Regions from separate parts of the Homo sapiens genome. Here regions 1, 2, 3, 4, 6 and 7 are each linked to region 5. Evidence: promoter capture Hi-C in 16 types of primary human blood cells and fetal thymus (Javierre and others, 2016). All regions are on one chromosome and are shown on one strand. Each heading gives the region's core, a stretch centred on a gene start or on the middle of the fragment in contact. The rest is flanking DNA. Distances are from core to core; before and after follow the strand shown. Region 1 overlaps RBM15B (RNA binding motif protein 15B). Region 2 overlaps DCAF1 (DDB1 and CUL4 associated factor 1). Region 3 overlaps DOCK3 (dedicator of cytokinesis 3). Region 4 overlaps DCAF1 (DDB1 and CUL4 associated factor 1). Region 5 holds the start of CISH (cytokine inducible SH2 containing protein). Region 6 holds the start of RAD54L2 (RAD54 like 2). Region 7 overlaps DCAF1 (DDB1 and CUL4 associated factor 1).

Region 1 (3,357 bases), core at 250-2,749, 780 kb after region 5:
GTCTCTGGGTGGGTGGCCTGGGACCTAACACGTCACTGGCGGCTCTGGCCCGAGAGTTTGACCGCTTTGGGAGCATTCGGACCATTGATCACGTCAAAGGAGATAGCTTTGCCTATATTCAGTACGAGAGCTTGGACGCAGCCCAGGCCGCCTGTGCTAAAATGAGGGGTTTTCCCTTGGGTGGACCAGACCGCAGGCTCCGCGTGGATTTTGCCAAAGCAGAGGAGACTCGGTACCCCCAGCAGTACCAGCCCTCGCCACTCCCTGTGCATTATGAGCTGCTCACAGATGGATACACCCGGCACCGCAACCTGGACGCCGACCTGGTGCGGGACAGGACGCCCCCACACCTTCTGTACTCAGACCGAGACCGGACTTTTTTGGAAGGGGACTGGACCAGCCCCAGTAAAAGCTCTGACCGCCGAAACAGCCTTGAGGGCTACAGTCGCTCAGTGCGCAGCCGGAGTGGTGAGCGTTGGGGGGCAGATGGAGACCGTGGTTTGCCCAAGCCCTGGGAAGAGAGGCGGAAACGGAGAAGCCTTTCCAGTGACCGTGGGAGGACAACCCATTCACCATATGAGGAACGGAGTAGGACCAAGGGCAGTGGGCAGCAGTCAGAGCGGGGCTCCGACCGCACCCCTGAGCGCAGCCGCAAGGAGAACCACTCCAGTGAAGGGACCAAGGAGTCCAGCAGCAACTCCCTCAGCAACAGCAGACATGGGGCTGAGGAACGGGGCCACCACCACCACCACCACGAGGCTGCAGACTCTTCCCACGGGAAGAAGGCAAGAGACAGCGAGCGCAATCACCGGACCACAGAGGCCGAGCCCAAGCCTCTGGAAGAGCCAAAACACGAGACCAAAAAGCTGAAGAATCTTTCAGAGTACGCTCAGACACTACAGCTGGGTTGGAATGGGCTTCTGGTGTTGAAAAACAGCTGCTTCCCCACGTCTATGCATATCCTAGAGGGGGACCAGGGGGTGATCAGCAGTCTCCTCAAAGACCACACTTCTGGGAGCAAGCTGACCCAGCTGAAGATCGCCCAGCGCCTTCGACTGGACCAGCCCAAGCTTGACGAGGTCACACGACGCATCAAGCAGGGGAGCCCCAACGGCTATGCGGTCCTCTTAGCCACCCAGGCAACCCCCAGTGGGCTTGGCACTGAGGGGATGCCCACAGTAGAGCCCGGTCTGCAGAGGCGGCTTCTCAGGAACCTGGTCTCCTACTTGAAACAGAAGCAGGCCGCAGGGGTGATCAGCTTGCCAGTGGGGGGGTCCAAGGGCAGAGACGGCACAGGCATGCTCTACGCCTTCCCACCCTGCGACTTTTCCCAGCAGTACCTCCAGTCAGCACTAAGGACATTGGGCAAGCTAGAAGAAGAACACATGGTGATAGTCATCGTCAGAGACACTGCCTAGCCCAAGCCTGTCTTTCCCAGCGTCATGTTTGTGTCACAAAAGCAGTTATTTTAAAATCTGATCCCCTCTCTACCCTACCACTTTGGTTTGAATTATCTCCTGGGTTATTTTGGTTCATTTGGGTGGGGATCAAAGTCCTGTCCACCACCAAAACTAAGTTCTTAGATTTTGGGGGATTTTTTTTTTTAAACGATGAGAAGGGAATCCGGTTATGTTGATTTCTAGTGTACAAGATACTGTCTGCTGTGGTTCTGTATTTTTTTATTTTTTGACCAACTGTATGGAAAGTTGTCAGTAAAACCTTTGACAGAGGATGGATTTTTAAACCTGTTCAGAGTCCTGGTTTAATCAATCAAGCTAAAAGAATCGAAGACATCCCTAGTGCATGTACACGAATGCCCTACGTCATCCTTCCAGCACCACTGCTGCATGGGTCACTCTCGGCCTCTCAATTCTTCAGGCTCAGTCTGGACTCTACTTACACTCATTTTTATCTTGGCTGACAGCAGGCAAGCTTCAGTTTGGGCTGTGGACGCTGCCACACAAGCCTGAGTAGAGCCCATGCAAAGGAAGGGATGGGGTGAGCGCAAGGCCTGTGGTCAGCAGCTACTGATGGTTTTTTCTGCCTTAAACCGTGTGTGTGTCCATCATCATCAGTTTGAGCTGTGGCTGTTTGTTTGGGACAGAGTGCCCACTCAGCATGTTTGGCAGCAGGTAGCCTTCAGCAGCTGTGTAGTCTTGTACAAGGAGAAGCTGTGCACTGTTGATGCCAGGGGGTCTCGGGGCCCCTGATCTGTCCAGGCTCCTGGTTCGGCCTACTTTCTAGCCTCACTCAGCCCAGGGATAGCCAGTGTTGGGAGACAGAGTTGCCTCAGGTTCCCAGGGGCCCGGGAGTCCAAATACTGGAATGGAGGGTTGGAGGCAGCCTTCCTTGGATTTACTCATGAACTTTGCCTAGTTGTTTGTGATTTTTGGCTTTCTCTGGTCGTTCAGGGGTGATGGGTAATAGAGCAGGCCCGTGTCCAGTCATACCTAGAGATTTGTGGGGGGATACTGAACCTCTAGACTGAAGTACTTACCGGGGAGCACAGTGGACTAGGGGATGCCCTTGATAATGACGGTTTCCTAGGTGCAAGATCAGAGCATGTGCCTACACCTTGTGCCCTGATGCCGAGGTGGAGACCATTGGGAAATAATTAATAGATATTTTTCTGGGGGGAAATCACAAGTCACTGAGGTGTTTGTTTGTTTGTTAGGCAGTGCTAGAGCTTGAAGCCACTCAAGCCAGTTGGGGAGGAAAGGGATGCGGAGGTACCCTCTAGCTGGGAAGAAGGGTGAGATTCCGTCTTCTTCCCTGTCTCAAGTAAGTAAGGAAGGTACTGCGGACAGTGTGGGCCAGGGAGGAAAACCAGAGCACACAGTTTTGTCACCATGGAACACCCCAAATGCCATTCTTCAGCGTGTCTGGTACCTTGGATGTTCAAACAGGGAACACTGTCAGGGCTGAGGAGAACAGAAGCTCTGGTAAGCGAATGAGCCCCTAGATGATAACCAGGAACTCCAGGTTCTGCTGGCCGTGGCATCCTCTCTCCAGGTCTGCTCCCTTACCGGAGCTAGGATAAGGTAGCATGAGTGACACCTGAGATTAGAGGCTGGGGCTCACTGCAGGCTGTGGAGAGGTCATGCTGGTCCACAGGAACACTTGGCAGTGCTCTCGTAGACCCCTCGGTGATGTGGAATGGACAGGTGCCTCGCAAGAGAGCAAGCACGTTCATAACAAAACAGCAACACAAAGACATGTTAAGCATGTTTATTTATTTGCCTGTTTTTGTTTTTTTACTTGAGCTGTGGTCACAGCTGCCAGGTACCTAAGCAAGTCAGTTGGGTACAGCAGGACACGCCACCATTCCAGGGTAGCTGGTACCGCCAGAAACAGGAG
Region 2 (3,321 bases), core at 379-2,878, 840 kb after region 5:
AAACATCAGCATAATAAAGGCCATTTATGAAAACTCATAGCTAATATCATACTCAACAGTGAAAGACTGAAAGGCTTTCCCTTAAGATCAAGAAAAAGATATCCACTTATTTTTTGAGAGACAAGGTCTCACTATGTTTTCCAGGATGGTCTTGAACTCCTCAGCACAAGCGATCTTCCCACCTCGGCCTCCCAAAGTACTGAGGTTACAGGCGTGAGCCACCACGCCTGGTCAAGGTGTCCACTTTTGCCACTTCTATTAAACATAGTACTGGAAGTTCTAGTGAGAGTAATTAGACATAAAAAAGGAAATTAAAGGAATCCAGATTAGAGAGTAAGAAGTAAGATTACCTCTGTTGGCAAATGACGTGATCTTATATGTGTAAAACCCTAAAGACTCCATACACAAAAAAACCTGTCAGTGAAGTAACACATTCAGCAAAGTTATAGGATACAAAATCAACATACAAAAATCAGTTGCACTTCTATACACTAGCAATGAACAATATAAAAAGGAAATTCTTTTTTTTTTTTTTTTTTTTTTTTTTTTTTTTTTTTAGTGACAAGGTCTCACTCTGTCACCCAGGCCGGAATGCAGTGACATAATCATAACTCACTGCAACCTCGAACTCCTGCGCTGAAGCAATCCTCCTGCCTCAACCTCCCAACTAGCCAGGACTACAGCCATGTGACACCACACTCAGCATATATATATATATTTACAGATGGGGTCTCACCATGTTGCCCAGCCTGCAGCCAAATAATTTTAAATAAAAATAAATTTTAGGCCAGACACAGTGGCTCATGCCTGTAATGCCAGCACCTTGGGAAACCAAGCCAGGGAGGATCATTTGAGCTCAGGAGTTCAAGACCAGCCTGGGCAACATAATGAGACTCTGTGTCTATTTTTTCGTATATATTTAAAAAATAAAAATAAATAGATTTTAGGTCAGGTGTAATCCCAGCACTATGGGAGGCCAAGACGGGTGGATCACCTGAGGTTAACAGTTTGAGACCAGCCTGGCTAACATGGTGAAACCCCATCTCTACCAAAAATACAAAAAATTAGCTGGGCATGGTGGCAGGTGCATGTAATCTCAGCTACACGGGAGGCCGAGGCAGGAGACTCCCTTGAACCTGGGAGGCAGAGGTTGCAGTGAGCTGAGATCATGCCGTTGCACTCCAGCCTGGGCAACAAGAGCAAAACTCTGTCTCAAAAAAAAAAAAAAAGATTGTAAAGCTTTTTTTCAATATCTCTGAAAGTAAAAGTCAACAACTTTTTAAAAACAGTGGCGGAATAAAACCAACTTAGTACACTGAACCAGCATTTTAAAAAAGAAATAAGTAAAAAAGTATCAGAATGAATTGCACAAAGAGTAAACAGTGTTTTTAAAACTTCTTTTTCATACATATAATGTATGGACTGGGTTTCAAGGTTTAAAAAAAAGTACATGTTACTATGTTTCACAAAATTTGAAAAACACCATCCTAGAGCAATAAGTCTTTTTCTTTTCTTTTTTGAGACAGGGTCTCGCTCTGTCTCCCAGGCTGGAAAGCAGTGGCACAATCACAGTTCACTGCAGCGTCCACCTCCTGGGCCCAAGCAATCTTCCCACCTCAGACTCCCAAGCAGCTGAGACCACAGTGTGCACCACTACACCCACAAAGAGACTCCATCTCTTTGTAAATGAGGTCTCCTTAGGTTATCCAGGCTGAATAAGTCTTAATTATAACTTCTGAGGAACACCAATAGCTAATTTGTTGAGAAATAATGATTTCTGACTCATTAATTGCTATAATTAAAATATTTTAAGAAATATTGATTTATTAAAAAAAGCTGCATAGGATACTTCTGAAGAGTACAGATCATCATGTAATCAAGTAACACAATATGAAAAAGGCTTGCAATCTGTTCTCTAAACACTGGATTCAAGACAATTTCCAATCTAATGCACAATGGAATAAGTCACTTCTCCCAATAAACCATTAATTAGGAAACGATAAAATTGTTCTTGCAGAAAGCTTTATTATTCATAATTTCCCTTAAATAGTGTTTCTAACCACCAAAGGGCACTCACTTCTTTCTAGATCTACAATGATGAAACTATAAAGAACCAGAGATGATTTTCCTACAAGGACAACATGGAAATTTTCAAAAAGCCCCGTTAAATCATCTGTTATCGGCTGGGTGCAGTGGCTCATGCCTGTAATCCCAGCACTTTGGGAGGCTGAGGTGGGCGAATCATCTGAGGTCAGGAATTCAAGACCAGCCTGGCCAACGTGGTGAAACCTCATCTCTAATAAAAATATTTTAAAAATTAGCCGGGCGTGGTGGCGGGCACCTGTAATCCCAGCTACTCAGGAAGTTGAGGCAGGAGAAATCACTTGAACCCAGGAGGTGGAGGTTGCAGTGAGCCGAGATCACACTATTGCACTCCAGCCTGGGCAACAGAGTGAGGCTCTGTCTCAAAAAAAAAAAAAAAATCTGTAATCTTGGATAAACCTTGTGTATACAAATATATTGCCATAAATGCTTTTATCATCCTGATTTTCAAAATAATCCATATTAAAAATTTTTTACAAAGACAGATTCTTCTAGTCTCACACGGGTTGCTAACTGGAGATTTTAGTCTATAAATGATATTGCAAATTATAACGTTAATCACAACGTTATTCTCTAAAATACTTTCTGTGGCACAATTATTCTGCAATAAAAGTTAATATGAATTTTCTTAAAAGCTAAATAAGAATCAAGATCTTTCATTTGGGTCATACACTTAACTATAATAAGACTTCCAGGCTGGGTGCAGTAGCTCATTCCTATAATCCCAGCACTTTGGGAGGCTGAGGCGGGAGGACTGCTTGAGCCCAAGAGTGTGAGACCAGCCTGGGCAACATAGGGAGACCTCATCTCTACAAAAAAATTTTTAAAAAATTAGCTGGGCATGGTGGCACTTGCCTATGGTCCTAGCTACTTGGGAGGCTGAGGCAGGAGAATGGTTTGAGACAAGGAGGTCAAGGCTGCAGTGAGCTTTTCTTTTAACCTGTCTCGAAAGAAAAAAAAAAGATTTCCAGAGTGTTTAAGAAGATTAAAATTTTAATAGCTTTAAAAATAAAGCAACTGGCCGGGCACAGTGGCTCACGCCTGTAATCCCAGCACTTTGGGAGGCCAAGGCGGGCAGATCAGCTGAGGTCGGGAGTTTGAGACCAGCCTGACCAACATGGAGAAACCCCATCTCTACTAAAAATATAAAAATTAGCCAGGCGTGGTGGCACGCACCTGTAATCCCAGCTACTCAGGAGACTGAAGCAGGAGAATTGC
Region 3 (3,641 bases), core at 639-3,138, 740 kb after region 5:
TCAACATACACTATAGGCTGAATCCCATAGAGATGTGTTCTCAGATGATCTAAATGAAGCTGCCCTGATGTGTGGGCCCTGGAGCAGTTGAGACCTAATTGCTAATCGCTGATCACCCCCAGTTCCAATATCTTTAACTAAAGTTCACTGTCCACAAGCCTCAGCAAGTAGCTGGGAAAATTCCCTTTGATATGTTTGGGATCCTGTCTTCTTGGAGAAATTGGGTTAGCCAATGAGCAATAACAAGCTTGTTATCACATCAAAGGTCAACCGGGCTTAATAGCTCCTTTAAAAAAAGCTAGTCTGCTAGCGGCAGAGTCCAGGCTAACCACATTGCAGAAGTAAGGCAGGTCAACTTGCACTTTTCTTGGGCAGTAATCATTCTAGGCTAGAAGGAAAAACGATCTGTGTGAGCACTGGCAATATGACAGGGACAGCAAGCTCACTGCCTAATTGTGATCCCCAGGAAGGCTCTAACTCTATTCCACAGGAGTGTTTCTAGTAGCAGAATGGGAATGAGTAGAGAGACTTTTTTTTTTTTTTTTTTTTTTGAGACAGAGTTTCACTCTTGTTGCCCAGGCTGGAGTACAATGGCACGATCTTGGCTCACCGCAACCTCCACCTCCCAGGTTCAAGCGATTCTTCTACCTCAGCCTCCCGAGTGGCTGGGATTACAGGCATGCGCCACCATGCCTGGCTAATTTTGTATTTTTTAGTTGAGACGAGGTTTCTCCATGTTGGTCAGGCTGGTCTCGAACTCCTGACCTTATGTGATCCGCCCGCCTCGGCCTCCCAAAGTGCTGGGATTACAGGCGTGAGCCAATGCGCCCAGCCAGGAATGAGTGGAGAGACTTTCTTAAGAGGACTGGGCCTCCTTCATCTCTAGTGACCATCCAGCCCAGGCATTTTAGAAGTGGCATATTTGCTAGCCCCATCAGCATAGATCATATAAGAATAATGGAAGTGGTGGAAGTCAGCAAAAGAAGTAGAAGCAATTGTACAAGAACTAGAAACCAAAAGCATTTCCAGAAAGTCCTTTGACAAACTAATGATTCTGGTCTTGTAACTTGCCTTTTTCTCATTTTATCTTTTCAAATTATGCTTTCTTGTCATTTTCTTCTTCCTGTATAGATCCACAATTTGTACATCAAAAATGAAATTTCACTATAAAACATCATTATTTTGGATATTACAGAATCAGGCCCTGGTATCCCCTGTTTCTGTTCTGCCAAGCAGGAATGCTCCATCGTAGTCCAACCTGTTTCCCACCCTTTCATGCTCATGTCACAGGACACATTAGTGTCTCAGGGTTGTTGGAGCTTTCTGACAGGTAGGACCTGGCATAAAACCTGCATCTAAGCCATCCACATCATGCTCACAAGTAACAGTCCAAATGTTCAAATGTGGTTTCAAAGACCCTGGGAATGGAGGAAAAATAACAAGAGGTGTTAGGAAATATCACCCATCAATCGATTCCCATCTCCACACAAGATGCAATCTCAACGAGAGGCATAATGCATGTATAATTCATGCATACAAATTTCCTCAGCCAACCCACATGCTACCTTCCCTTATTTCAGCTGCTCAGTTCATCTGTGGCAGAATAATAAGTCCCAGTGGAGGTAGCTCTTTGCCTTGCCCATGGTGGGAATCAGGTACAAAGCAGTGGGGGCCAGATCTGTCTTTTGTGGGGATGCTGGAGCTCTTGCCCAAGTGAATATGAAACCAACAGTCAGCCTCAAGGTCAACACTGTGTGCGTTCTTCCTGCTGGGCCTTCCCCAGAAGGCTAGGCTACTCTCCTACCATCCCTGAATGCACAGGCCATCTATTACTTTAGCTCTATCAGCTTGGTTTCTCTGGGCCATCTGCCTGCCTCGCCTCACAAATGTGATTATCTATTAATCTGCAAAGAGTCAGGAAAACATCCAACCCTCCCTTCTTGAGGGAATTTATATTTCTCATTTGACCCATGAACAGACGTTGATGAGGGTTGTACATATGAATGATATGAAAAGGCTAGTTCTTCACAAGTACTTTCTTTGTCAGTTTTATTTATCAAGCAAAAGATGTAGAAATATCTCTGTCCTTTGACTACTGGTCTGTTCCACTGGAGAGGCCAGCCTGCTCCTCCTGACCTTAACTTTCTTCCTAGCGTTAATCAGAATCAGAATCCCTTCCATTCTGATTCATCCAGACACATGGCCCAGTCTGGGTGCAGTGGCTCATGCCTGTAATCCGAGCACTTGGGAAGGCTGAGGCGGGTGGATCACCTGAGGTCAGGAGCTCGAGACCAGCCTGGCCAACATGGTGAAACCCCATCTTTGCTAAAAATACAAAAATTAGCCAGGCATGGTGCCAGATACCTGTAATCCCAGTTACTTGAGAGGCTGAAGTGGGAGAATCACTTGAACCCGGGAGGCATAGATTGCAGTGAGCCCAGATTGCACCACTGCACTCCAGCCTGGGCAAGAGAGTGAGACTCTTATCTCAAAAAAACAAAAAAACAATACAGACACATGGCCCAGCCTTAGCCAAGTTCTCCCATAGTGAGAGAGGAAGTAAAAATGAGACAGAAATCCTATTTCAAGAAGATCAGGGTCTTACAAGGCCTGCCCTGTGATTAACCCTGTCCCAGGAAGCATATGGCTGGCCCTGTGACGCCTCTCTCTCTCTTTCTTCCTTTGAAGACATGCCAAGAGGGGCTGGCAGTGCCTGATACCATTTTGTTGAAATGGGTCTGGCTAGGCAGTTGGATGGGCAGACTGCATCACCAGTGGGTTTCAGGGGAACTTCCTCCAGCCACCCACTCATGACCAGCTATGACATAGGCAGAGCAAGCAGAGTTGGGGGTGCCTTGTCCACAAAGAGAAAAACTGAGACATAACCAAAAGTAAATGTGACATAACATAAAGTTTTAAGAAGTCTGTACTTAGCATGATGTTTATTTGTTCTGCTGACATGTTTGCAAAGAAATTTGCTGCCAAAGGGTTACTAATGCAATAAACAGTTACTGAATACCTACTGGGCACTGGGCAACATTAGACTGTTTCTCCCAACTAATAAAAGTGATCCTTCAGAATCACACACTTGATCACCACCCCCCCCCCATTTAAAATTATTTGGTGGCACCCATAGCAATCACTCCTTGGTAACATTGGAGTCAGGGTCAGGGTATTCCAAGGCCTGCCCAGTGATTAACCCTGTCCCGGGAAGCATATGGCTGGCCCTGTGATGCCTCTCTCTTTCTTCCTTTGAAGACATGTCAAGAGGGGCTGGCAGTGCCCCCTCTGCCCAACTGCTTCTACCAGTTCTCTACACAGACACCTTCTTTCCAGCTCCACCTTTTCCTGTCTTGATTGTTGTTGCCCTGGTTGTCACGGTACCCACATAGATTGCCCTTCTCCACTCACACCATACCATACCAGCCTGACCTAGGTGGACCTTTCAGGACGTTTTTTTAACATAGCTTTTTCTAAAATCCCATCTCCCACCTTGCTCTCTTTCCTGCGTAAGGTTTTTCTTCTTCTTCCAAGCTTCTTGCAGCCTGTACCCTTCCCTTGGGGCTGCCACACCACAGTGTAATTCTCGCTTTGTTTTTCTTCTGCCTCCTTGAGTGCAATGCCCTGTGCCTGTCCCAGGG
Region 4 (3,855 bases), core at 1,257-3,756, 800 kb after region 5:
CAAGCTCTGCTACCCAGAAAGACTAGAAACATGTACAAGCTGTAACAGCACAGCACTCAAGAAAACACTAAAATCCATGTCACAAATAAATCAAAGATTTCAAGTATCCACTGGAAAACCTCTCCCTTCTACCCATATCTCATAACTCACATGAGCTTTAGACACTGCTGGCTCCTCTCACCCATGAAACCAAGGCCCCTATAGAGCCCATATAGCTGGAAAGCAGTAAAGGAAAGCCTTTCTACACTAGCAGATCCTTGGCAGCATTTGGTGAAGTTGTTTCAAACTCTACAGCCTAATTATCCTTTACCAGGCCCTGAGGAAGGCTCTGCTCTGATCCCACCATGGCCACCAGCTGCCCACCACACAAGAGTCTCCTCACTCTGCTCAGAAGCCCATTTCTGCAGATCACGAATCATCTCGGGCCTCTAATAAAATGCATGCTTAGACAGTCAAAACAGTGAAGACCAAGAGAGCACACACAGGGGATTTTAGGTTGAGTCTCTGTTCTAGCTTTTTTACCCAGGTGTATCTGATCCAGGTATACTGTGTCATCTTTGATGTACAGGTGATGCAGTATTCAAAGGATTTGATTTACAGAACAAATGATATGCTCATATCCTGTAATGGCCAACAGTAAAACACATAGCTAAATCTCAACAAAACACTCTTGCTTAGTCAGTACTAAGTCCCATTAGAGAAAAACATGGGTCCTTTGCCCTAGTATTAGACTTACATCCTTACAAAATTACCATTTTCAAATATTACCATTTTCAAAAATTCTTGCTTTTAAAGAATTATTTTAAATGTAAGTACAAGCTGTTTTGAAAGGACGCTAAGAGAAAGCTATTACATTAGCCCTAACCATTGAGCATGATTTATCAAAAAGTAGGGAAGGATGAGGGCAAGAGAGCTGTGGCAATGCAAACTGAGGGAAGTGTACTTTCCCCGGTCCTGTGATGCCACTGCTTCTCATCCAGAGCACCTCTGTGCCCTTAAAGAGGAGACAAAGCTGGCTGGGCGTGGTGGCTCATGCCTGTAATCCCAGCACTTTGGGAGGCTGAGGCGGGTGGATCACCTGAGGTCAGGAGTTCCAGACCAGCCTGGCCAACATTGTGAAACCCCATCTCTACTAAAAAAAATACAAAAATTAGCTGGGCATAGTGACATGTGCCTGTAATCCCAGCTACTCAGGAGGCTGAGGCAGGAGAATTGCTTGAACCCCAGAGGTGGAGGTTGCAGTGAGCCGAGATCGTGCCATTACACTCCAGCCTGGGTGACAAGAGCAGAACTCCATCTCAGAAAAAAAAAAAAAAAAAAGAGAGACAAAGCACCAAGACTAAAGAATACGATAGTAGGGGGAAACAGAAATGAACCCAAGAACTGGGGAAGAAAACATTTTTAGCTGCTTTAATATCTGAAGAGCAAAGTCAAATCCTAGTCATTCATTTTCAACTTTACAGTACTCACTCAGCAATAAATATTTCTCAGAAAATTAGACAAAAGAATCTGCCCTGGAGAATGTACTCTTGGAAAGAGAATGTGCTGTGAGCCCTGTAGGCTGGAAAAAATCTGCTGAAACTCAGAAGTTTGAGAAACTCTTCAGAACCCATACTGACACACCACACAGGCAAGCACCTAGCGTAATACAACCACAAATTAAAATTCCCTATGAAAGCAAAATGCAAAGACTGAGGGACATGATACTATCTACCCACATTTTATATATGTTTAATTTCTCAAAAGTATCAAAATCTTATCTTACCTATAAGTTCAACTCTTACCCTAATAATAGACTATGCCATAAAACTGAGAAAATATAAACCAGAACTTTATAAAGGTTAAGCCATTTCTACAGTCCATCTCAGCAAAGTGATTGTTCTGTTTTTTATTGACATTGGGAGATGCTTATCTGAAGCCAGAACGGGGCACAAAGAAATCTCTGAATGAAAATCAGAGATTGCCAGGATGAGTGCGGTGGCTCATGCTTATACTCCACGCACTCTGAGAGGCCGACGTGGGCAGATCATCTGAGGTCAGGAGGTTCGAGACCAGCCTGGCCAACACGGTGAAACCCCGTCTCTACTAAAAATACACAAAAAATAGCCAGGCGTGGTGGTGGGCACCTGTAATCCCAGCTACTTGGGAGGCTGAGGCAGGAGAATCACTTGAACCCAGGAGGCAGAGACTGCAGTGAGCCGAGATCATGACATTTCCAGCCTCGGCGACAAGAGCAAAACTCCATTCTAAAAAAAAAAAAAAAAAAAAAAAAAAAGCAGAGATTGCTAAGCTTTAAATTGCTCTGCAAATGGAATTCACGGGATCATCAGGTACTGGTTAAAATCTTATAATAAAATTTCTTCTGAGTTTCAGTGATCAAGGGTACATGACAAGCCTTATGAATGTGGCAACAGGTAGCAAAGGTTGAGTAGACCTTTAAAACCTCCTACAGCAAAAAGCAGAGCATAACCTCTATTAAGCACTGTTCAGCAGAAAGAAATCTCAAAGACCACTGACCTGGTCCTCCTCTTCATCCTCATCCTCTGCCAGACGCTGCCTGCCCACTTCATACAGCCTGCATACTGTGTCCATGTTCAGGGCATCCATGCTGCCTTGATTCTGAAATAGAACATCCAGTCCATAAGGAGCAGTTACTTTTCAGAAGGTCCACATCCACGCCTCAGCCCTGACTGGTGCCCATGACCTTGACCCTGTAATTATTAAAGCTTCTGATACCCGAAATTCTTGAGCTGACTATGAAAATGTTATACCTAGGACACATAAAGGGGAAGAAAAACAGAATGAAAAGACTTGGTGAGGAACCATCACCCTTGGAACAAACCAGTCTTGCTCTGGTGAGAGATCCAGATTCCTCTGAGAAAGGGATGACAGTGTGAGTCCAGAAAAAAAGGAGACAGGATCCTCTAAGCTGTCTTATATTGGGATTTTCTTACTATTTCTCTTTGTACTGTACATCTCCCAAGCCCCATCAAATGAATAGGTTATCAATAATCTACCTTCAGGAATGTATTGACTTTACATCTTATATCAGACAAAATGTCTGTAGTACAACTTGAAAATTATCCTAAACATCAGAACAAAAGAGCAGGGCCTCTGCAAGCTCCCTTTACCTCAATGACAGCAAGATAGCAGTCTTTGGTGTCTGTACACAGGTCAAAGATGTTCCGTTTCACATCAATGGTTGCTGGAAAATAGAATGTGAGAAGATTGGGATTGGACTATTGCTGTGACCCTAAAACCTGCTTTTCCTCTAAAGGAATTCAGGATGATTGCTCAAAAGTATTTCCATAACTTCTCTGTTTTTCAATAAAAAATTACAGGCCTCCAGAAAATGAAGGATCTTAAATAAGGAACACCAAAACACGACAAAATGTTCAATGTCTGTCCCTTTCTGCTTACCTATAGGTTTGTAGTCAGTTGCATTAAATGTTCGGAAGGATGACCCAAAGGGGCTTTTCATCCTCTCTTCCATTAAGTCATCTTCATCATCTGCCTGCAACATAGCTTGAGGGGGAGTGGGGGAGGAAACACTATTAGGAATCACAAACATCCCCTCTTCACAAGTGCAGAAAATGTTAATGGCCAATCAAAACAATCTACTTGCATATAGGTTTACATACAAATTCCCTTGTACAGAAATCTACTCTGCATCTAGTTAGCTCCTCTCAGAGCATCTTCCTTGCATATCCCACCTATTGTGACAAATAATATCCTCAGCCTCTCATCTACCTCCAAGAAGTGTTACTGTACTTACAAGGCTTATAACAACACAAGAGGACAAATGCAAAAGCTCTTAAGTTCATAATGATACACTGGAAAATACTGCATGAAATT
Region 5 (3,492 bases), core at 856-3,355:
CTTAGTTCTGGGTCTAGTCCCTGGCTGGGCCTCAGGACACCGCCATAATGAAACCATGGCCTTGCCCTCAAGGAGAACCAGACTGGCTGGGGAAGATGACACTAAGAGTAATTATAATGCAAAGTCATAAAACTGCAGGTGTCACGGGGGAGTCAGGGTCTGCTTGCTCCTGAGCTGTGTCTTCCAGGCCAAAGGAAGGAGCTGGGGGAAGGGACCCCAGGTAGAGAGGACAGCATGGGCAAACAGCGCCAGTATTGCTTGTGAGGCAGGAAGGCGCAGGCAGGAGCTGGTGGCAGGAGCCAGACCTGACTCCTGTGTAGGTTATAGGTGACCCTCTAGGTTCTAACAAATCATGGCCCTATGACCACTCACAGTGAGAAAGGGCCACACAACTCTGGCACACCACAGCCTGACAAAAACTTTTCCACACCTACCCTGGCTGTACTGTGGGATCTTGGAAATCCCTCTTGGAGAGCTGGAGGCCAAATTTTGAGATGACCTGCTTGCTGGGGCCCAGAGCTACCTTCCCAGGAGCATGGTTGGTGGCTAGCCAGTCAGGCTGGAACCTCTGTGGGTGGCCACGTCCAGATAGCTTAGCCGGTCCTCAGATCCCACATGTAGGTGTGGGCACCTTTGGGGCTGATGTGGTAGCTGGGTGTATGAATAGCTGTGTTGATCACCACAAGCTCCTGGTGAGTGTGTACCTGGGCAGGGGTGTGTCCATGGCTGTGTCATCATCATGGTGGGGACAGTGGCTGGTGTGTTCTAGGTACATGTGTGTGCCCGCTTTGGAGCGCAGCAGTCTAAAACTTTGTTCCCTGACACCCAACAGTAGCCCTGAGCTTACAAGGGGGTGCTCACCTAGGGTAAAAAGTGAAAGAGGCTATGGGACCCCGGAATGCAGGGGGAGGCTCCTGGGGTGGAAGGCAGTGGTGGGGCAGGTATTCAGGAGTCCCAGAATGCAGACAGGAGGAAGGAACTTGCTGGAGACAGCAAGGGAGAAGTAGTCTTCCCAGCACCTCCATGTCCTCTTCCTTGGCCTCACCTTCCACCCTCCCTCACTTGGCACCAGGCCAGTTGCGATAAGCACAGCCACCCAGTCCTCCCTGAGTGCAGAACACCCATTTATACCTTCTTCCTCTCTCCTTGGAGCTTCCTGAGCTCCTGTCACATCACCATGGCCAGCATCAGACCCTTTGGTTGAAGGGGTTGCTGAGGTTCAGGACAGAGTGGATGGCCAGGAATGCTCAGCTCAGGTCAAGACTCTGTCTTATCAGCATCCCCTCTCCACTGTCCCTTACCTCAAGTCTGGGAAATTTGAAGATGAGAGGCAGGAGCCAAGGTCCTTCTCACATTGGGATCCCAGACTGGGCTGAGACAGGGTTGTGAGACGATTGTGGGGGTACCCCAAGCAGGACCAGGCCAAACCCAGGGCCTCCCGAGAGTTGCAGACCATCAGGTGCCAGCCTGAGGAAAGGCAAGGATCTGCGGCTGGCTTCCCAAGAAGAGCCTACTTGCTAGCCTGGGGCAGGAGAGGGGACACCAGGACAGAGGGGGCCAGGGGCTGGTCCAAGGTTACTAGCAGGCAGGGCAGCAGGCAGGCTAGCGTAGAGTGCTCTGGGCCCAGAAGAATATCTGGGATTGTTGGCCACATCTTGGGGGACGCCGTGCCGTTAGCATCCATCTGCTCCAATGAGAACCCAGGCTGAGCCCACCCTGTGAGTTCCTCCTTTAGCCGGCCAGCCCCCGGTTTCCCAATCCACAGTGGGAATTGAGGTAAGTGTGTGGGGGCGGGGAGTGGGAGTGTCACAGCCCCACACAGAGCCTTGCTCCTGAGGTCCGTCTGCGCTCAGTCACCTCTGGCCCGTCAAGCCCTCCCAATGCCCGGCAGCTAGCACGAAGCCCCTGTTCTCCCGTGCGCCCCTCGTGGTGGCCGGGAAGGGGGCAGAGAGCCGCGCTTACCCCTGAACGCAGAGGACCATGTCCCCGCGGCAGCGGCGACTCCGGAGTGGGGACTCGGCTGGACGGCGGCGGCTGGAGGGAACCAGTGGGCGCGGAGCGCGTGCTGGGTAGGCTCCCGGGGCGCGCGGGCGCAGGACAGGGACTGAGAGGCAGTGGCGCGGACCGCCTGCGAGGGCGAGGGGGGCGGGCCAGACGAGCGGGGCGGGGCGAGCTGCTGCCTAATCCTTTGTCTGCCGCGTTCCAGCCCTTCCCGGAAGCAGCGTCTTCCTAGAACCGCGGGCTGAGCGGTGGGGCCCGGGCGGGGTGCGCGGGCCCCGTCGCCGGGTCTGGGGCCCTGAGCAGTGAAAGGAAATACTTTGACAGATTTCCAAGAACTTTCCAGGAAAACGGGGCGGGGCCCCGCGAGCTGACCAATCGCGACGCTGAAGGTGGAGCCGAGCGGTCGGGGAGGGCCAATAGCAGCGCGTGGACCCGGGGCTGAAGCTACCCAGAGGGGCAGGTCGGAGAGATCAGTGGGGAAAGACCGGGTCGGGGAAGTTAAGGAGGGGCCCGGGCTCAGCAACCCGCGCCCAGATTGCCTTCTGGCATTCTGCGTCGTTGGGGAAGGGCCCTCTTATCTCGCGGTGGAACTCGTGGCAGGGCGGGGGGCGGAGTCCCGGGCTTGTCCTCCCTGCGAGCGGCTCCTCCAAGGAGGTCTGTCGGCGTGTGCAAGCGCCCCGTGTTGGGACGGCCGCTCCTGGACCCTAGGACTCTGTGTGTCGGGTGTCGGATTGGGTGGCATGGGGTGAGATCTGGAGCGGGACTTAGGGCAGGGCGGGGTGCAGAGGACAGTTCCAGAAATGAGTGGGTCCACTGAGGTCAAGCCGGCGGTCACCACAGCCAGAAAGATCCAGACAAGAACGTTTTCTTTGAAAGAGTTGAAGGAGAAAGCACGCCCCAACTTTTCGAATCAGGCAGACCATCCAGTCTTGGCTGGCACTGGTTTCTGGCCGGCCCTGCCAGTCAGGGGAGAAGAGACTACAGATTTGAGAAAGCAAGCAGAGACAGCCCCAGATGGCCCGGACTCTGGGTTGGTACCACCCCCACCCCCCGCCAGAAAAAAAATGCTGAGAGAGAGTCCTGCAACTCAAAACATAGGGAGATAATCTGGGAGTAGGGTGATAGAGGTTGGGGCGGGATGGCGGGGGCAGAGTAGTAACACTCGCTCTTATCTACAGGGAGTACTTGCTGCATTTGATCCTCTACAACTGGTGTTGCTCCCGTTATGCGGACAGAAGACAGCCCCAGGGAACAAATGCTAGGAAATGGCAGGGTAAGAGCTTGGTCCCAGCTCTGAATCAGAAGCCCACGCTCCTACCAGGACCCTCTCCACCTTTTTTCAGTTCACTGGATTCACTATGGAGCATCTTGAAGGACTGTAGGGTCTGTGAATCTCCTCCAAACCCTTGGGCCAGAAGAACTGTGGGATTTGGAGAGGTTGCAGGGTCCACTCCCCACCCCCATCCCCCTCCCAGTGTGTGCCCCCAGGGT
Region 6 (3,451 bases), core at 739-3,238, 930 kb after region 5:
TGCTAAATGGCTGGCGAGTGCAAAACCATTCCGTTGGACCCACCCCTAGAACCATTCTCAGGCAGCTTCTGGCTTGGGATTTCTGTGCGGCATTCATTCCAGAAACGGTCCCATCCAGGCAGGAATCGCCGTACACCCGGCGCAGGGGAACGGCCTTCAGTCGGCTCTCAGCGGAACTTTCCTCTCCGCGGCGCGTGTTCCCGTCCGTGCGGTCGGGCGCGCGGGCCGGGAGGGGGACGCTTTCTGGCGCGGACCGTGAGCGGAGGCTGGCGAGCGCCGCCGCCGGTGGAGACCGACGCTTGGCCAGAGCCAGCCCGCGGCGCCCGGGCCTGGCCGGCTGCTTCCCGCCTCAGCCGCCGCCCCCGCCTCCGCCGCCGCAGACTTTGCCTAGGCGGGCGAAGCTGAACGTGAGGTCCCTCGGCCCTGCGCGGTCCGGCGCGGCCCGGAGCCGCGGCGCAGGAGGTGAGACGCCGGTGCCGGTTCCTCGCTCCCGGCCGGGGCCGCCGGGTCCCGCAACAATGGGGACCGACTGGAGACGCGGCCTGGGCCCCTGCCATGCAGTGGCTCGGGGCAGCTAGATGGACCCAGCGGCCCGGGCCTTCGGGGCACGGGGTCCCCCACCCGGGAAACTCCAGTGGCCGGAGGCTTGGCGGGGGTCTTGGGCCTCGACCCGGGGCCTCAGTGGCTTGATATTTGAGGATTTCGTAGCCGGGGAAGGGAGTCGTAGGGACACGGAGACTTAACTGTTGCCCCTCTGCGCTTTTGGCTCTGGATGCTGGCGCCCCGGAGGATGACCAGAGCGCGGTGTGGGGTTGGGAAAGTATTTGGAATTTTAGGGGCTTCTGTGTGTCTAATCCCTAAGGCGCATCTGGATGCGTCTCCCCGACCCCCTCTCCTGAGGTCTGGGAATTTGGCAGACTGGGGTCGGGCTGGGGCAGAAGAGGCATTGAGAGTTTAGCTTCCCTGAGGTAACTGGTGATTAGTTCCTGGAAAGGCAGGAGCTCAGCTGGGCACAAGAGAGTTAAGCAGAGAGCTGGATCCTCCGGGGCCCTGATGCACCCTGACGAGGAGTGGTTTTCAGGCAAGGAACTTATCACAGGAGTGAGTAGTGGCACACGGTGAGTAGTGCTAGCTGTCTTGTCGTTAGGGTGAGGCCGGTGGGAGTTGTGGTTTGGGGAGTGTAGAGGAGGGTTGATAGGCTACTGAGATTGGAGAATCAGCTTTATGTGGGTCATGGTGGTGGCAGCCTGGGAGATGAACAAGGAAACTTTGCAGAGTGGGCTTCCTGATGGAGAGTGACCTCTTACTGCGTGGGAGTGGGTGACTCAGATCTGTTAGGATTCCTGTTGCTTGCTAGGGATTGTGGCTGACTATATTGGTGGCTGAACATTGAGGTGGATGCAACTGGAAGGGTTATGTGGGGCTGGATGAGTTTGTTCCCACGTAGAGGACAGTGTGGACCTTTCTTACTCCAAGTCAGAGTGGTGACTGTCATTGACAACATTTTAAGTAAGGAATTTCTTTGTGGTATTTGGATCCAAAGCTTTTCTCTGTTCATTTTTTTCTTTCCTCCGTTGTTTTTGAATTGTGACTCATACTTTCTTTTCAGCACTGTGGCTATTTGAAATGATAGACAAACTTAGACTTCATCATACATGTAAGTTCCAGGCGTTTTCAGTCCAATTCTTATAAATCTAAATTTAAAAGCTTCTTTTCACTAATTTGTGTACCATTGTTTAATGTGTGCAACACTAAAGAAGGATAAGAAAACTCTAACATTTATGTTGTTAAATGGTCTTTCCATCCTTAAATCCATGAAATTTCATCTTCTCTTACTGCCATGAAGTGAGTTCGTTGAATCTATTAAATCTTAGTGACTCTCATTTCAGCATCCTTGTTTACTCTCACAGGACATTGTCTTCACTAGAAGTATTATCCATCTTCAATGAATTTGGCCTGTACACTGTCTCCCTGTGACAATCTATATCATTGAAAGACAGTACGCAAACTCCAACTCTGAGGCCTGCAGCTGTGGGCCGGAGCTCTGTATGTATTATTCAGGCAAAAGTTGGTGTGTTGTCTGTAGGTGAGGTTTAAAGGGAACCCTACATGAACAAAAACAGTATCAGAATCATTGTACCTTCTGAGTTTAGAGTGGTAGGAAATATAGCCTAACTGGAGTCTAGTATAAACTTTCAAGTGCAATGTTAGGTAATTCTGTTTGTAGTTGTACTGATAGTTCTCATTATTGTAAACATTATCTTTTTCCTTAAGCTTTAAATAATTATTTTTCTTCAATGGTATTCTTTCTTTCTTGGCTGGGTGTGGTGGCTAACGCCTGTAATCCCAACACTTTGGGAGGTCGAGGCGGGCATATCACATGAGGTCAGGAGATTGAGCCTGCATGGCGAAACCCTGTCTCTACTAAAACTACAAAAATTAGCCGGTGGGGTGGCATGTGCCTGTAGTCCCAGCTACTCTGGAGGCAGAGGGACAAGAATCACTTGAATCTGGGAGGCAGAGGTTACAATGAGCCGAGATCGTGCCACTGCACTCCAGCCTCAGCGACAAAGCGAGACTCTGACTCAAAAAAAAAAAAAAAAAAAAAAAGTAGTATTCTTTCTCTTTCTCCATTCATTCTTTCATAAACGAACATTTATTGCATTTTGCCAGGCACTGCTTTGGGCACCTCAAAAATGCTGATGATATTTTTTAACATTTTGTTAGTGGTAGTTCCTGGTTTAGAGGTGGTTATAGGTCTATGAAGAAAGAAGTGATTCAGGTATATCAAGCTTTTAATCAGTAAAGACATTGAATAAAGTTTTTATAATGTATTAATTTTGACTGGTGACAGTTAATTATCTTAACATCTCCATGGAAAAAGTTTAGCTATCACTGTGAGTTCATGCTGGTATGGGATTATTTTTGCACTATTTTATACACCTGTTAATTTTAAGTACTCCTGTAGACAAACCACAGGTAAAACATTTTGTTTTGGTGTATGTCTCAACGAGCAGTGATTTACAAATACTATATGTGTTCAGATTCCCCAGGAAGCCATCACACTCCTTCCCACTGTGGTTTTGGGAGCATGAAGGCGTTGCTTATCCCCTATGTCTGGTTCACTGTATGTAGGCTGGGAGTGTCTGCTGATCACTTGGAGTGCTGTCCCTTGGAACAGGAGGAGTAAGATTGAGGTAAGGCTCAGTCTGTTTGAAAGTCATTTGCTTCTTAATTTTTACTGCATAAAATATAATGTAAATCTGAATGTTTTTTGCTTTGTTACTCTTCATTCTGATCTATTAAAATGAAATTCTGCCTTTTGCTGTCTATCTCTCTGTGTATATATCTTGGGCAAAAATAAATGAAGAAATGTAAAATCAAGGTATTTAAATAATAAATGAATTCTTCAAAATAGCTCTCATTTTCCATCTGGACTATTCACTTGATC
Region 7 (3,686 bases), core at 504-3,003, 820 kb after region 5:
CACTGGCCAAGAGATTTTATTTTATTTACTTATTTCAAGACAGGGTCTCACTTTGCTGCCCAGGCTGGAGGGCAGTGGCTTGATCACGGCTCACTGTAGCCTCAATCTCCCAGGCTCAAGCTGCCCTCCTGTCTCAGCATCCCAAGTAGCTAGAACCACAGGCACATGCCACCACACCCAGCTAATTATTTTATTTTTTGTAGAGACAGGGTCTCATTTTGTTGCCCATGCTGGAGTGCAGTGGCATGATCATAGCTCACTGCAGCCCTGAACTCCTAGACTCAAGCGATCCTCCCACCTCAGCCTCCTCAAGTGCTGGAATTACAGGCATGAGCCACCATGCTTGGCCAAGGTTTTAATTATAAATTAAATAATAATACCTTTCAAATTCCACAATTCTTGAGTCAAAAGCCCATATGTGAAGTAATGACCATAGATTGCTTAATCTTTTATCTTATTTATAACTAGACTCACAATATGATTTGTCCAAAAAGATAACAAAAGTTTCCTTTGTGCATATAAGTTACAGCTTAAGAGAAAGAAGCATCATGTGACTGATTTCAATTTGTGACTTTTTTTTTTCTTGAGACTGGTTCTCACTCTGTTGCCCAGACTGGAGTGCCATAGCCCGATCACGTGCGGCCTCAAACCCCCAGACTCGAGTGACTCTCCCATCTCAGCCTCCCAAGTAGCTGACACAGGTGTACCACCATGCCCTTTTTTTTTTTTTTTTTTTTGAGACAGTCTCTGCCCAGACTGGAGTGCAGTGATATGATCGTAGCTCACTGCAGTCTTGAACTCCTGGGTTCAAATGATCCTCCCACCTCTGCCTCCCAAGTAGCTAGAACTACAGATGCACACCACAGGGCCCAGCCAATTTTTAAAATTTTTGTAAAGACAGGGTCTCACTATTGTTGCCCAGGCTGGTCTCAAGAAATCTGCTGGTGATTTTTTAAAAAACATGCAGCTACTCGTCATTATCCCAAAACATATCAAATTCCACAATGATAGTGAAGTGGAGTTATAAACACATTTTCAGAAAAGAAATTCTGCACAGAAGGCAAATCATCTAGTACTTTTCATACAAAAAAGCTCTTTGCCAGGTACAGTGGCTCACACCTGTAATTCTAGCACTTTGGGAGGTCGAGGTGGGAGGACTGCTTGAGTCCAGGAGTTCCAAGACCAGCCAGGACAACATAGTGAGACCCCCATCTCCACAAAAAAATTTAAAAATTAGCTGGGTGTGGTGGTGTGTGCCTATAGTCCCCCAACTACTCAGGAGGTTGAGGTGGGAGGATCACCTGAACCTGGGAGGTTAATGTTGCAATGAGGTGTGGTCACATCACTGCACTCCAGCCTGGGTGACAGAGGGAGACGTATCTCAAAAAGAAAAAAAGAAAGCTTTTTTATACACACTTCAGTTAATCTTTTAGTTCTAGAATCCCAGCAACTTACAACTGGAAGCAAAATAATTCCCTGAAATTCACCTATTACATCCATTTTTCAATTGTTCTGCCTTCATACAGGGAAGTATACTCCAACAATGGACATAGCACAGAGTCCACTGATCTGAATGTGAGTTTCAGGACTGAGATGCTACAGAGAGGGCTAACAGAACTTTCCCTTTCAAGGCAAGGTCCTCTCACCTTGTACGGGGGTTGTGGGTGGACAAGAATGCCACCCTCAGTCCTCTGAAGTGACTGCTTCACTTGTTCCAATTTAATGGCCAGGTGAGCCTCAAAGTATTTGCGCAAGGCCATGCAGGTATGTTTCCCAGTTTGGCGGCTAGCAAATATTTCATCATCACTCAGAAGTGCACCCTGATCTTCCAAATTTAGAATCTCCAAAGTACTGATCTATTAAGATGCAAAATATTGGGGCAAAAGAGGGGAAAAGGCAAGAAGAGTTAAGTAAAAATATTTAAAAAAGGGAAAATATTTTAGTAAACTTTTTTTACTTTCCATACATATTCTGCTTATGTATCAGTAAACTTTTATGCTTAACAAGACTGACAAATATCAACGCATATTTATGTATATCTATGTATATAGCATGCTAACAGTAGCTATATGAAAGCAAAACATTAAACTCATACCAAAAAATGAACAAGCTTTTAATCATATTAAAAAATGTACAGGAATAAAACTATTGCTTTTACAAAGATCAAGATCATCAACTGCCAATCCCCGTTATAAGATTACTATATCCAAGGCAAGTCTACAACGGCACAGTGTCCTCTAACTACTAAAGAAAAAGAGAAATTTGTGAAGAAAGGGAAAAAAAAAAAACTTCACAAAAAGAATGGCAGCAAAACTCCTCTAATCAGAAGCTTCCTTTCTTCAAGGGTGTGCCGTTAAAGGGCAGCCAAGACAACCAGGACCCTCAATCCTAGGGAGAAAAGCACTGAAAGAACCTCACCAAGTTCACCAGACGACGAAGACCATCATAGCGGTCAAAGAGCTCCAAGACGGCCCGAAATGAGAAGCAAATTGAAAAAAACATGGTAGCATGGCAGCATCCTGAAGCATGAGAACACTCCATTAACCACAGGGTATAGTTCACCACATCAGACAGAACATTGTGGGGATGCATGCAAACCTGCAAAAAAATACAAATAAAACAATGCTTTTAAATTGTGGGCAAAGGAGCCCTTGAACAGGATGGAAAATTTGCCAGTATAGATATCTGCAGAATACAATGACCATCTCCAATCAAGTCACTCTTAGTACAAAGTTTAGGTAATAATACAAAGGCAATTTTAGAACACGATCCATTCCAAACCTGAAAACGACCTAAATTTAGATAAATATTTAAATACAACCTATACTTACTGAGTGCCAACAAATATTTACATCATTTAATGCTCACGAGGGCTCCATTATACAGGTATTAGGATTCTCACTTAAAAGAAGAGGAAGAGGTAAGGAACTTCTCCAAATGTGATAAAAGTGGCTCAGATTTCTGATCCTAAGTCTAGGAGTTTGGTATTCATTCTCTGGTTAATTCACACACATTTTGATGTCTACTATGGGTCAGAAAATGAAACTGTAAAGCATCCCCAGGTTTCCTTGATATTTTTTTCTCTATCTTAGCCATAAGTAATTTTGTATGTACACACATAGATTAGTTTATTACTCCCAAAAGACTACCTATCTTGCATAAACACCAAAATAAAAACAAATTAAAACTGATATTATTAATAAGCAAAGATAAATAATGTCATAGCTCGAGAAGAAATTACCCATTTCACTCTACCAGAAAAGACACCAAATAAGAATATTAGAAAAATGTCCCAGAAATAGAAGTAACAAGAGCTTTGCTTTCCTAGGGGATCACAGGAGCCCATCGCTTTTCAAATGTATAACCCACAGCCTGGGCAAAATGGCAAAACCCTGCCTCTACAAAACACGCAAAAATTAGCCAGGTGTGGTGGTGTGCCCTTGTTGTCCCAGCTACTTGCGAGGATGGTTTGAACCCAGGAGGCCGAGGCTGCAGTGAGCCAAGATCATGCCACTGGACTCCAGCATAGGCGACAGAGCCAGACCCTGCCTCAAAACAAAAACAAAAACAAAAAACCACATACGTATGTGTAACCCATTTACACTTTTTAAAAAATCACAAGGCCAGGCACGGTGGCTTATGACTGTAATCCCAGTACTTTGGGAGGCTGAGGCGGGTGGATCACT

Evidence for each region. The method cuts DNA at HindIII sites, captures the fragments that hold promoters and counts their contacts. A CHiCAGO score of 5 or more calls a contact.
Region 1: a fragment that was not itself captured here is called in contact with the fragment with the promoter of CISH in region 5 in 16 of 17 cell types (total CD8 T cells, megakaryocytes, total B cells and 13 more); the score reaches 14.1 in total CD8 T cells.
Region 2: a fragment that was not itself captured here is called in contact with the fragment with the promoter of CISH in region 5 in 1 of 17 cell types (naive CD4 T cells); the score reaches 5.5 in naive CD4 T cells.
Region 3: a contact is called between a fragment that was not itself captured here and the fragment with the promoter of CISH in region 5, in 2 of 17 cell types (endothelial precursors and naive B cells). The highest score is 6.7, in endothelial precursors.
Region 4: a contact is called between a fragment that was not itself captured here and the fragment with the promoter of CISH in region 5, in 3 of 17 cell types (total CD8 T cells, naive CD8 T cells and megakaryocytes). The highest score is 6.5, in total CD8 T cells.
Region 6: a contact is called between a fragment that was not itself captured here and the fragment with the promoter of CISH in region 5, in 2 of 17 cell types (naive B cells and total B cells). The highest score is 7.0, in naive B cells.
Region 7: a fragment that was not itself captured here is called in contact with the fragment with the promoter of CISH in region 5 in 12 of 17 cell types (naive CD4 T cells, naive CD8 T cells, total B cells and 9 more); the score reaches 10.6 in naive CD4 T cells.

Annotation. Positions count from the first base shown.
Region 1 is chr3:51,392,655-51,396,011 of GRCh38, forward strand. RBM15B (RNA binding motif protein 15B) reads left to right here. Exons shown (of 1, transcript NM_013286.5): 1 at 1-3,357. The coding sequence ends at 1,418. It also overlaps a transcript of DCAF1 not described here. Among named protein-coding and RNA genes, the nearest start is that of RBM15B, 3.0 kb to the left of the region's middle. RefSeq lists enhancers at 140-645, 646-1,153. The HindIII fragment of the contact is 862 bases long and covers 1,069-1,930 here.
Region 2 is chr3:51,450,549-51,453,869 of GRCh38, forward strand. The region is part of intron 6 of DCAF1 (DDB1 and CUL4 associated factor 1); the gene reads right to left. Among named protein-coding and RNA genes, the nearest start is that of DCAF1, 48 kb to the right of the region's middle. The HindIII fragment of the contact is 782 bases long and covers 1,238-2,019 here.
Region 3 is chr3:51,351,123-51,354,763 of GRCh38, forward strand. The region is part of intron 40 of DOCK3 (dedicator of cytokinesis 3); the gene reads left to right. Among named protein-coding and RNA genes, the nearest start is that of MANF, 32 kb to the right of the region's middle. The HindIII fragment of the contact is 3,287 bases long and covers 246-3,532 here.
Region 4 is chr3:51,409,862-51,413,716 of GRCh38, forward strand. It overlaps DCAF1 (DDB1 and CUL4 associated factor 1), which reads right to left. Exons shown (of 25, transcript NM_001387579.1): 21 at 3,421-3,525; 22 at 3,132-3,205; 23 at 2,518-2,619. Among named protein-coding and RNA genes, the nearest start is that of RBM15B, 21 kb to the left of the region's middle. The HindIII fragment of the contact is 436 bases long and covers 2,289-2,724 here.
Region 5 is chr3:50,609,669-50,613,160 of GRCh38, forward strand. CISH (cytokine inducible SH2 containing protein) reads right to left here and starts at 2,106. Exons shown (of 3, transcript NM_145071.4): 1 at 1,963-2,106. The coding sequence starts at 1,982. It also overlaps a transcript of MAPKAPK3 not described here. RefSeq lists enhancers at 1,065-1,625, 2,535-2,624 and a silencer at 1,975-2,454. The HindIII fragment of the contact is 4,554 bases long and covers 1-3,492 here.
Region 6 is chr3:51,538,454-51,541,904 of GRCh38, forward strand. It overlaps RAD54L2 (RAD54 like 2), which reads left to right and starts at 266. Exons shown (of 23, transcript NM_015106.4): 1 at 266-462; 2 at 3,136-3,197. RefSeq lists enhancers at 40-334, 1,153-1,242 and a silencer at 223-622. The HindIII fragment of the contact is 567 bases long and covers 1,706-2,272 here.
Region 7 is chr3:51,427,615-51,431,300 of GRCh38, forward strand. DCAF1 (DDB1 and CUL4 associated factor 1) reads right to left here. Exons shown (of 25, transcript NM_001387579.1): 11 at 2,419-2,598; 12 at 1,647-1,856. Among named protein-coding and RNA genes, the nearest start is that of RBM15B, 38 kb to the left of the region's middle. The HindIII fragment of the contact is 709 bases long and covers 1,400-2,108 here.